2 separate regions of the Homo sapiens genome follow, and region 1 is linked to region 2. Evidence: promoter capture Hi-C in human tissues and cell types (Jung and others, 2019). All regions are on one chromosome and are shown on one strand. Each heading gives the region's core, a stretch centred on a gene start or on the middle of the fragment in contact. The rest is flanking DNA. Distances are from core to core; before and after follow the strand shown.

What was found. The method cuts DNA at HindIII sites, captures the fragments that hold promoters and counts their contacts. A contact is called where the count stands out against the background at its distance.
Region 1: a fragment that was not itself captured here is called in contact with the fragment with the promoter of GP6 in region 2 in 2 of the 25 tissues and cell types used here (neural progenitor cells and thymus).

What each region holds. Positions count from the first base shown.
Region 1 is chr19:54,920,249-54,926,033 of GRCh38, reverse strand. It overlaps NLRP7 (NLR family pyrin domain containing 7), which reads left to right. Exons shown (of 11, transcript NM_001127255.2): 11 at 2,162-2,519. The coding sequence ends at 2,294. It also overlaps a transcript of NCR1 not described here. Among named protein-coding and RNA genes, the nearest start is that of NCR1, 17 kb to the right of the region's middle. RefSeq lists enhancers at 4,706-5,205, 5,206-5,707. The HindIII fragment of the contact is 4,526 bases long and covers 1-3,581 here.
Region 2 is chr19:55,035,581-55,042,159 of GRCh38, reverse strand. GP6 (glycoprotein VI platelet) reads left to right here and starts at 3,896. Exons shown (of 8, transcript NM_016363.5): 1 at 3,896-3,957. The coding sequence starts at 3,924. All of the region lies in intron 2 of GP6-AS1 (GP6 antisense RNA 1), which reads right to left. It also overlaps a transcript of RDH13 not described here. The HindIII fragment of the contact is 34,893 bases long and covers 1-6,579 here.

The sequences.
Region 1 (5,785 bases), core at 69-2,568, 110 kb after region 2:
CTGTCTTTTTTTTTGAATCTGTCTTTTTTTTGAGACAGAGACTCCAGTCTCTGTCGCCCAGGCTGGAGTGAAGCGGTGCGATCTCGGCTCACTGCAAGCTCCACCTCCCGGGTTCACGCCATTCTCCTGCCTCAGCCTCCCGAGCAGCTGGGACTACAGGCGCCCGCCACCACGCCCGGCTAATTTTTTGTATTTTTAGTAGAGATGGGGTTTCACTATGTTGGCCAGGCTGGTCTCGAATTCCTGACCTCAGGTGATCTGCCCACCTCGGCCTCCCAAAGTGCTGGGATTACAGGCGTGAGCCACCGCGCCCGGCCTCAGTGACTTATTTTAACGTAATCTACCTTTAGTTTCTTCTTGCCTTTGTCTTTTCTTTTCTGAGACAACGTTTTGCTCTGCTGCACTGTGTGGCCGTGTTGCCGAGGTTCTCAAACTCCTGGCTTCAAACGATCCTCCTGTCTTGGCCTCACAAAGTACCCGGATTGCAGGCGTGAGCCACTGTGCACAGCCCACTTGTCTTATTCAAGAGTTATTTTAGTTGTAGAGATGATACGCATGTAAACTGCTTCATGATGCCCAGTGTTGCATTATTGGAACGCTAAGCATGTGGGAGTTATTTATATCCTGCTCAAGGTACGATTTTTCACACGTCTGCAGTTCAAATAATTGTAACCTCTGGCATAAATGGGTTAAGGTTTTAGGGGTATATCATGAAACTTGAGCTAAATAGTGTCATGCTTCTCTTGTTGGTGGGACCGAGGTCTGTAATGCCACCAAGGACTATTGGTGACAAATCTCTAGCCCCCTGTGGTCTCTTATGTCATATGTTTGGGGCGTATTTCTTTTCTCATTCCTCAGTTCCTCCTTTGGGAGGCCAAGGTGGGAGGATTGTTTGAGGCCAGGAGTTTGAGACCAGCCTGGGCAACATAGCAAGCCAGTGTCTCCACAATCACCACCCCTCATGTTCACATACACAGGCTTGCATGCTGCAGCCACGTTAGAGCCAAGTTTGCTATCATTAACCCTGGGGTTCACTCTGGCATTCTCTTAGTTCTACTGAAGGTTTGATTTGCCACTATTTTTTATTTATTTATTTGGAGGCAGAGTCTCGCTCTGTCACCCGGGCTGCAGTACAGTGGTGCGGTATTGGCTCACTGCAACATCTGCCTCCCAGGTTCAAAGCGATTCTCCTGTCTCAGCCTCCTGAGTAGCTGGTATTACAGTTGTCTGCCACCATGCCCAGCTAATTTTTGTATTTTTAGTAGAGACGGGGTTTCACTATGTTGGCCAGGCTGGTCTCGAATTCCTGACCTCAGGTGATCTGCCCGCCTCGGCCTCCCAAAGTGCTGGAATTATAGGCGTGAGTCACCGTGCACCAGCCTGATTATCTATTTTTTAAATTTATTTTTTAAAGGCATGTTTTACTCTGTTACCAGGCTGGAGTGCAGTAGGGCAATCTCTAGCTCGTTGCAACCTCCGCCTCCTGGGCTCAAGTGATCCTCTTGCCTCCGCCTCCCGAGTAGCTGGGACTATAGGCGTGCACCACCATTCCTGGCTAACTTTTTCTATTTTTGGTAGAGACAGGGTTTCACCGTGTTGCCCAGGCTGGCCTTGAACTGCGGAGCTCAAGCAATCTGCCTGCCTTGGCCTCCCAAAGTGCTGGGACTACAGGTGCGAGACACCGTGCCTGGCCATAATCTTTTTTTTCTTAGACTTATAAGGATCCCCATTGTGTGGGTCTAAATTTCTTTTTAGAAAACTTTTCTGACTGGGTGCTGTGGCTCACATCTGTAATCCCATGGCTTTGGGAGGCCGAGGTGGATGGATCACTTGAGGCCAGAAGTTCGAGACCAGCCTGGCTAACATGTCGAAACCCCATCTCTACTGTAAATACAAAACTTAGCCAAGCGTGGTGGTGCACACCTGTAATCACAGTTACTCAGGAGCCTGAGGCATGAGAATTGCTTGAACTTGGGAGCTGGAGGTTGCAGAGAGCCAAGATGGCACCACTGTACCCCAGCCTGGGCAACAGAGCAAGACCCTGTCCCCCAGAAAATCCCAAAAACGTTTCCTGCTTTGAGTGTTTGAAAACAGATATTCAGGCATCCTGGGTAGTTGAGAATGAATTTCTGGGAACATTTGTGTTCTCTGATCCCTCCAGGTTGAAGACCTATGAAACTAATTTGGAAATCAAGAAGCTGTTGGAGGAAGTGAAAGAAAAGAATCCCAAGCTGACTATTGATTGCAATGCTTCCGGGGCAACGGCACCTCCGTGCTGTGACTTTTTTTGCTGAGCAGCCTGGGATCGCTCTACGAATTACACAGGAAGCGGGATTCGGGTCTCTAAGATGTCTTATGAATGCAGGTCAGAGGGTCACATGTTAACACTAGAGTCTGTCGAGAGGTAGGATTTGACACTGGTTTTCTCACTATTTTTGGGAGATTCTGCACGAGTCACGCACCCCCTTCACATGACGCTATGTACTTTCTCACAGGGATAATAAAGTTAGAGCACTCTCGTTGCAGCTGCGTTTATTGACATGCTCAGGAGCAAACCTGCAATAAACATGGTACTCTGTGCTTTGTCTAGGAGGAAGTATTGCTAAGAAGTTCAGGGATGATTCGGTTGATTCTTCTATTTCTTTTCTTCCCTAACTCAGGCGCCATGTGGTCTACTATCTGCCAGGTGCATCTATGTGATCAGTGTGTCTTTGTGACTTATGTGATCATAACTTATGTGATCAACCCACGCATTGACAAACGGGCCAGATAGTTCATATGCTTGGCACTGTGGGCCCCGCGGTCTCTCATCAGCTCTCAGCTGTGCCTTTGGACATGGAAGCAGCGCAGGGCCTGGCTGGCACCTGCGGAGGCTTCCCAGAAACAGCTCGTGGGCCATGGGCAGCCAGCCCTGTTCTAATCTATCCTGTTACTCACAAAGCACAAGCTTACAGTCACTGTTGCCTTTAATTCAGAAGATGGCCCTGCCTCACGCTGGTTCTGCTCGGCTCCCACGGGCCGCCTCCTACTCTCTGTGTGTGTGTGTATGTGTCTCTCTCTCTCTCTGTCTCTGTGTGTCTCTCTTTGTTTCTCTGTGTCTGTCTTTTTGTCTCTCTGTCTCTGTGTCTGTTTCTGTGTGTGTGTCTCTGTGTCTGTCTGTGTTTCTCTGTGTGTGTCTCTGTCGCTGGGCGTTTCTATCTCTGTCTTTGTATGTGTCTCTCTGTTCTTTCGTTTTTTTTTTTTGTTTTTTTTTTTGAGACGGAGTTTCACTCTTGTCGCCCATGCTGGAGTGCAATGGCGTGATCTCAGCTCACTGCAACCGCGCCTCCCAGGTTCAAGTGATTCTCCTGCCTCAGCCTTCCGAGTAGCCGGAATTACAGCCCTGTGCCACCATGCCTGGCTAATTTTTTGTATTCTTACTAGAGACGGGGTTTCACAATGTTGGCCAGGCTGTTCTCGGACTCCTGACCTCAGGTGATCTACCCGCCTCAGCCTCCCAGAGTGGTGGGATTACAGGCGTGAGCCACCGAGCCCAGCCTGTCTGTCTGTTTCTGTGTGAGTCTGTGTGGCTGTCTCTGGGAGTCTCTGTGTATGTCTCTGTCTCTCTCGCCTCCCCGTTTCTCTCGGCTTCCCATTGCCATGGCAAACACAGCTTTTCCACACCCTGTATTTGGTCATTCATAGAAAATGCATAGAAGTCACTCCGCAATTTTCCTTAAGAATGAAAAGTTGTCACCATGATGTTAGCACTGGCTTCCAGGCGCTGCCAAAAGGGACTGACCCCTCTCCTCACTTGGCTCTCCACGCTTGCGGTAGGTGATGAGACTATTTTAATAAGAGCAGCCAGGCGCTGTGGCTCACACCTGTAATCCCAGCACTTTGGGAGGCCGAGGCGGGCGGATCACCTGAGGTCAGGAGTTCGAGACCAGCCTCAACATGGAGAAACCCCGTCTCTACTAAAAATACAAAATTAGCCGGGTGGGGTGGTGTATGCCTGTAATCCCAGCTACTCGGGAGGCTGAGGCAGGAGAATCGCTTGAACCCGGGAGGCGGAGTTTGCGGTGAGCTGAGATTGTGCCACTGCACTCCAGCCTGGGCAATAAGAGCAAAACTCTTGTCTCGAAAAAAAAAAAATAAGAGCATTGATATGGGGAAAGTTGTCATGGTCCCAGGCACAAAAACACGGGCATATGGCTAATGCTTTAGGTTGAAAGCTTGTATGACAAAGTTTTCTTTTCTTTTTTTTTTTTTTTTTTTTTTTGAGATGGAGTCTTGCCTCTGTCGCCCAGGCTGGAGTGCAGTGGTGCGATCTTGGCTCACTACAACCTCTGCCTCCTGGGTTCAAGTGAGTCTTCTGTCCCAGCCTCCGGAGTAGCTGAGACTAGAGGTGTGCGTCACCATGCCTGGCTAATTTTTGTATTTTTAGTAAAGACGAGGTTTCACCATGTTAGCCAGGCTGGTCTTGAACTCCTGACCTCAGGTGATCTGCCCGCCTTGGCCTCCCAAAGTGCTGGGATGACAGGCGTGAGCCACTGTGCCTGGCCTGACAAAGTTCTTTTTACTAACCCAAACCTGGAGGTTGAGTGGCTTCAGCACTGAATGATCCCATGAAGGCCCTCATTTATCTTGCTGTTGAGCATTGCTGTCTTTCGTGAGCCCTTGTCAAGATAAGTCTTCTCAAATGCTCGAGATCACTGTGGTGTTTAAGGCTACAGTCAGCTGGTAGTAATGCAGGCTGTGGGTGGTAACAGTGTTTAGCGGGATACAGCTCACACCGATGGGAAGGGTGGTAGAGACAGCGTGAATAAAGGAAGTGGTCAGGTGATGAGAGGTAGGGCTGAGTCAACATTTAGGGTTCTACATGCACATGAAGTTCCCGTGTAGAATTTGCTAAAAATAAAGACACAAAGATAGTAGGTAGAGGCTGGGAGTGAAAACATCTGGGTCGGACTCTGCTGCATATTTAATTGAAGTTTTTTTCCCCTAAATATTTTATCTACTTAAAAATTTTGATTTTGTTTAAGATAGTAGTCTTTTTTTTGGTGGGGTGGTGGGGCGGACAGAGTCTCACTTGGTTGCCTAGGCTGGAGTGCAGTGGCGTGATTTCACCATGTTGGCCAGGCTAGTCTCAAACTCCTGACCTCAGGTGAGCCACCCGCCTCGGCCTCCCAAAGTGCTGGCATGACAGGCGTGAGCCACCGTGCCCAGCCAAGATGGTGGTGGTGCTGTGTTGCCCACAGCCGGGTTGGAGTGCAATGGTGCGATCTTAGCTCACTGCAGCCTTAAACTCAAGGAATCCTCCCACCTGAGCCTCCTGAGCTGGGATTACAGGTGCATGCCAAACATGCTTGGCTAATTTTAAAATATTTTATAGAGATGGAGTCTTGCTGTATTGACCAGGCTTGTCTTGAACTGCTGGCCTCCAGTTATCCCCTTGCCTTCGCTTCCCAAAGTGCTGGGATTACACGCGTGAGCTGCCACACTGGGCTCTTACCCACTTACCAGTAATAAACACAGAACTCCTAAAGTGCTGTGATTACGGCGCCTGACCAGCCTTAATTACCTCTGAAAAGCCCTGTGTCCAAATAGAGTCACATCTGGGGTAGGGCTTGTACATGACGTTTGGTGGGACCAATTCAGTCCGTAGCAAGGACTGTCCTGTGTATCACGTGATGTATAGCAGCACCCCTGGACTTGGATGAGCCTGAGCCTGCCCCCACTGCAACTCGTGACAACCAAAAAACCTCTCGGGATGTGGCCAGATACCCCCATGGGGACAAAATCA
Region 2 (6,579 bases), core at 2,647-5,146:
TTTTTTTTTTTTTTTTTTTCCAGCCAGCAAACCCCAAACAGGAACCTATGGTTGGTGATGGATGTGCGTTCAGAAAGCAGGGAGGGAGGGGGAGTCAGAGGTGAGGGGGTCATCAGCCATAGCTGTCCGCTGCATCACCCCCTCGCTATCTCCAGGAAGCGTTCTGGGCTTTTCCTGTTGTGCAGTGTGGAAGTGCTCTATCTTCATTCATATCAAGGAAAGTCAAAGGACAAACTAAAGCCGGCAGCGTCTTTCTGGCTTCCTAGTCAGGCTGTTCGGTAGCGGAGTGTCACCCTGATTTCCAGCCCCGCAGCACACACAGTGAGAGCCTGCCTGGCGTGATTCAGAGGCAACGTATTTCCCAAGGTGGCTGTGAAGGAACCAGGGGGATAAACACAGCCCGTGAACCGCACGCCAGAGGACAGGTCCGGCTGCCTGCCGCGGAGTCGTCACGGCGTGTCGCGTCTGAGCGCTTCTCCAAAGCACCCAAGTGGCACCCGGGGTGACAGTTACATCATCTTGAGTACAGTTCTCTCAAGGAAAAAGCAAGCCCAGCATCTTCTGCCATGGCAACCCTGGCTTGGAGCCTCCATAAGAGAGAAGGCCCTAAGAATAATACCATTTTCTTGCTCTAAGTTGCTCTTACGGGAAAGAAGTGATAATATTCTTCCTAAACGCCATCATTCGTGCATCCTTCCCACCTATATGTGTCACCGGATCATTCTCCGCCTGGGCGGGGCCGTCCTGTGCACTGCAGAATGCTGAGCAGTGTCCTTGGCTTCGACCGACCACATGCCAGGAGCACCCCAATTTCTGCCATCGGGTGATTGACTTCACTGTTGCATTTGATTTTTTATGTATCTTTTAAAAGGACCCAATAGGGCCAGGCACAGTGGCTCACACTTGTAATCCCAGCACTTTGGGAGGCTGAGGTCGGTGGATTGCTTGAGCCCAGGAGGAGTTCAAGACCAGCCTGGGCAACATAGTGAAACCCCAACTCTACAAAAAACAAATGTTTTATTTTTATTTATTTTAGATGGAGTTTCACTCTTGTTGCCCAGGCTGGAGTGCAGTGGCGCAATCTCGGCTCACTGCAACTTCTGCCTCCCGGGTTCAAGCGATTCTCCTGCCTCAGCCTCCTGAGTATCTGGGATTACAGGCATGCGCCACCACACCCAGCTAATTTTGTATTTTTAGTAGAGATGGCGTTTCTCCATGTTGGTCAGGCTGGTCTCAAACTCCCGACCTCAGGTGATCTGCCTGCCTCGGCCTCCCAGAGTGTTGGGATTACAGGCGTGAGCCACCACGCCCAGCCGGGTTTATAGTTTTATAACCCTTATGACAAATCTCATAGTATTCTGCAGGGATAAGCATGAAACCACTCGTTCAATAAGTGCAAACAAAAACGCCAACAATTCTTAAGACATTTCTAATCTTATTTTACCAATAATTTTAAAGCCAGCTTATGTATTAAAGATTTATAACTACTTTTATTAACACGTTTAAAATTCTATGCAGCTTAAAGCATTTATAATGGATAAAACTGCCAATACTGAGTGCCTGACATAATATTTGAAAGGTGGCAGGCATTCAACCATGGTCACTGAATGAGAGATGTAGGGAAGATGATGGCAGGGAGGTTTTTAGATATCAACACCCTGATAGTTCTCATTTTAACCACCTGTAAGTGCACATACAAGTCAACGGCACTGGCCGGGCGCGGTGGCTCATGCCTGTATTCCCAGCACTTTGGGAGGCCAAATCACAAGGTCAGGAGATCGAGACCATCCTGGCTAACACGGTGAAACCCCGTCTCTACTAAAAATACAAAAAATCAACTAGGCATGGTGGCACGCACCTGTAGTCCCAGCTACTCAGGAGGCTGAGGCAGGAGAATCGCTTGAACCTGGGAGGCGGAGGTTGCGGTGAGCCAAGATCGCGCCACTGCACTCCAGCCTCGGCGACAGAGTGAGACTCCGTCTCAAAAAACCAAAAAACAAAAAACAGTCAATGGCATTAAATATAAATACATTTACAGTGTTGTGTAACCATCACCACTATGGATCCCCCAGACTTTGTCATCATCTTCAACCTAAGCGCTCCCTATTAAATAGTAACTCCCCACTTTTCCCAGGCCTTGGCAACCACCATTCTAATCCCTGTCTCTATGAATTTGACTCCTCTCGATACCTCAGATAAGCGGCACAATGCAGTATTTATCTGTCAAGTCCGGAATATTTCCTTTAGCATAATGTCTTCAAGGTCCATCACGTTGTAGCATGTATCTGAATTTATTCTTTTATAATATTTTTTATTTTTTGGAGACAGAATCTCGCTCTGTCACCCAGGCTGGAGTGCAATGGCGCGATCTCGGCTCACCGCAACTTCCGCGTCCCGGGTTCAAGCCATTCTCCTGTCTCAGCCTCCGGAGTAGCTGGGACTACAGGTGCCTGCCGCCATGCCCGGCTATTTTTTTTTTGTATTTTTTGGGGGTTTTACTGTGTTGCCCAGGCTGGTCTTGAACTGCTGAGCTCAGGCAATCTGCCTGCCTCAGCCTCCTAAAGTACTAGGATTACAGGCATGGGCCACCACGCCCGGCCTTATTTTTATTTTTGAGACAGTCTCACTCTGCCGCCCAGGCTGGAGTGCAGTGGTGCGATCTCGGCTTACCGCAATCTCTGCCTCCCAGGTTCAAGCGATTCTCATGCCTCCGTCTCCCAAGTAGCTGGGATTACAGGCACCTGCCACCATGCCCGGCTAATTTAACGCCCAGCTAATTTTTGTATTTTTAGTAGAGATGGGGTTTCACCATGTTAACCAGGCTGGTCTCGGACTCCTGACCTCAGGTGATCCGCCCGCCTCGGCCTCCCAAAGTGCTGGGATTACAGGCGTGAGCCACTGTGCCTGGCTGATTTTTATTCTTTTAGTTAAGGCTGGTTGATATTACCTTGTGTGTATATACCACATGTTGTTTATCCATTGTTGTTGATGGACATGTGGGTGGTTTCACCTTTTGGCTATTGTGAATAAAGCTGCTATGAACACTGTGTACAAATATGTTAGAGACCCTGTTTTCAGTTCTTTTAGGTGTGTACCCCGAAGTGGAATTGCTGGATTTTATGGCAATCCCACGTTTAACTTCTGGAGGAGCTGCTGGAACTGTTTTCCACAGCAGGGGCGCCATGTTACGTCCCTGCCAGCAATGCACGCGCAGTTCAATTTCTCTGCATACTCACCAATATCTGCTGTTTTCCATTAAAAAAAATTATAGCCGGTCGGGTGCAGTGGCTCATGCCTGTAATCCCAGCACTTTGGGAGACCGAGGCAGGTGGATCAACTGAGGTCAGGAGTTCAAGACCAGCCTGGCCAACACAGTGAAACCCCATCTCTACTAAAAATACAAAAATTAGCCTGGTGTGGTACATACCTATAATCCCAGCCACTTGGGAGGCTGAGGCAGGAGAATCGCTTGAACCTGGGAGGTGGAGGTTGTAGTGGGCCGAGATGGCGCCACTGCACTCCAACCTGGGCAAAAAGAACGAGACTTTGTCTCAAAAGAAAAAAAAAAAATACAGCCATTCCAGAAGGTGTGAAGTCATATCTCACTGTGGTTTTGATGCGTATTTTCCTAGTGACATCAGGGAGTTTATGGGAGCACGGGAACACAGACCAGGCCCCAGCAGGCGGACAAACGGTGCAACGCCAGGCTGGCCAGAGGAGATAAGCGCGGCTCCTTGGAGCTTGTGTGCAAGTCACTGTACTGAGGAGCCGGCTACGGCTCGATGAGTCTCAATTAGGAAAGGCCGGGGCTGGTGGAGGAAGGGAGGAGAGCATTCTTCATCCTCATCACATCCTGAGCCTGTGCCCCAGGCTCCCACCACTTCCCTCCCTGGCCACAGAGCTCAGGACAGGGCTGAGGAACCATGTCTCCATCCCCGACCGCCCTCTTCTGTCTTGGTGAGTCCTGAGGGTCAGATCTGGGAAATGCTGAAGGACAGGCATGGACTGCCAGACAAAGGATTTTTAAGAAATTTGCATTGGTGATGAATTTCAGGACAAAAAGGAACCTGTAAGAGCCCCTTCATTTGTTGGGTGGGGAAACGGGGGGCCAGCGAGCTGGCATTTTGCATGAGTTATTCCAGTGTATTCATGGCTGGGTCAGGAAATGAACAGAGTATCCTAGCATTGGTCACAACTTTGTTCTACTACACTGCAGTTGCCCCTTTTTTAAAAAATGTGGGCCAGGCACAGTGGCTCACGCCTGTAATCTCAACCTTGGGAGGCCGAGGTGGGTGGATCACCTGAGGTCAGGAGTTCAAGACCAGCCTGGTCAACATGGTGAAACCCCATCTCTACAAAAATTAGCCGGGCGTGATGGCGGGTGCTTGTAATCCCAGCTACGTGGGAGGCTGAGGTGGGAGAATTGCTTGAAACTGGGAGGCAGAAGTTGCAGTGAGCTGAGGTCAGGCATTGCACTCCAGCCTGGGCAACAGAGAGAGCCTCCATCTCAAAAAAAAAAAAAAAAAAAAAAAAAAAGGCTGAGTGCCATGGCTTACACACTTTGGGAGGCCGAGGCGGGTGGGCCATCTGAGGTCGGGAGTTTGAGACCAGCCTGACCAACATGGAGAAACCCCATCTCTACTAAAAATACAAAATTAGCCGGGTGTGGTGGCACATGCCTGTAATCCCAGCTACTCTGGAGGCTAAGGCAGGAGAATCGCTTGAACCTGGGAGGTGGAGGTTGCGGTGAGCCAAGATCACACCATTGCACTCTGGCCTGGGCAACAAGAGCGAAACTCCGTCTCAAAAAAAAAAAAAAAAAAATTGTGGAATTGATATCTGGACTAGGTATGGATTTAATTTGTCAGTATCCCCTACAGTAGTGGAGTAAATAGTCTCCTGATGGATGGGTGGCAGGTCGAATGCATTTCTGCTGCCTGATCTTCACTTGTGCTGGGCATGTCGAATGCATTATTTCCTGATTTCTTCAGAATTTGACCACTAAAGGGACAGCATCTCCAAAAGGCTAAGCAGGAAGAAGATGGTTGCATTACTGGAGATGAGAGGGTTAACTGTGAATATAAACAACCTCTCATTCATTATCCATCCATGGATGTATTCTTTTTTTCTTTTTGTTTGTTTTTTGAGATGGAGTCTCGCTCAGTCGGTCGCTCAGGCTGGAATGCAATGGCATGATCTCAGCTCACTGCAAACTCTGCCTCCCGGGTCCAAGTGATTCTCCTGCCTCAGCCTCCCGAATAGTTGGGATTACAGGCATCTGCCACCAGGTCTGGCTAATTATTGTATTTTTAGTAGGGGCGGGGTTTCACCATGTTGGCCAGGCTGGTCTCAAGCTCCTTACTTCAGGTTCCACCCGCCTCGGCCTCCCAAAGTGCTGGGATTACAGGCGTGAGCCACCGCACCCAGCCTGTTTTAACTTTTATTTATTTAATTTTATTTGAGATAGGGCCTCACTTCTGTCACCCAGGCAGGAGGGCAGTGGCATGATCATGGCTCACTGCAGCCTCAACCTCCCAGGCTCAACCAGTGCCTCCCCATCAGCCTCCTGAGTATCTGGAACTACAGTTGTACACCATCATGCCTGGCTTGTTTTTGTAATTTTTTTAGTTACGGGGGTCCGCTATGTTGCCCAGGCTGGTCTTGAACTCCTGGGCTCAAGCGATCCACCCACCTCGGCCTCCCAAAGTGTTGGGGTTACAGGTGTGGCCTGTACAGGTTACTGCATCTGGCTTGTTGCTTCAGTAGCTTTTGGGATACAAGTGGTTCTTGGTTACATGGATGAATTATATTCTGGTGAATTCTGAGATTTTAGTGCACCTGTCACCTGACTAGTGTACCTTGTACCTAATGTGTAGTTTTTCATCCCTGCCCCACTTCTGCCCTTCCCTTCTGAGTCTCTGAAGTCCATTACATCACTCTGCATGCCTTTGCATACCCACAGCTTAGCTCTCACTTATAAGTGAGAATATACAGATTTTTGTTTTCCACTCCTGTATTACTTTACTTAGAATAATGCCTTCCAGCTCCATCCAAGTTGCTGCAAAAGACTTTTTTTTTTTTTTTTTAAAGACGGAATCTCGCTCTCTCACCAAGGCTGGAGTGCAGTGGTGTGATCTCGGCTTACTGCAAACTCCACCTCCCGGGTTTAAGTGATTCTCCTGCCTCAGCCTCCCGAGTAGCTGGGACTACAGGCACCCGCCACCATGCCCGGCTAATTTTTGTATTTTTAGTAGAGATGGGGTTTCACCATGTTGGGCAGGATGGTCTTGATCTCTTGACCTCGTGATCCACCCACCTCGGCCTCCCAGAGTGCTGGCATTACAGATGTGAGCCACTGTGCCTGGCCAAAAGACATTATTTCACTCCTTTTAATGGCTGAGTAGTATTCCACGCTCATTTATTTTTATTTATTTTTATTTTTTGACATGGAGTCTCACTCTGTTGCCCAGACTGGAGCGCAGTGGCATGACGTTGGCTCACTGCAACCTCCACCTCCCAGGTTCAAGCGATTCTCCTGCCTCAGCCTCCCAAGTAGCTGGGATTACAGGCTCCTGCCAC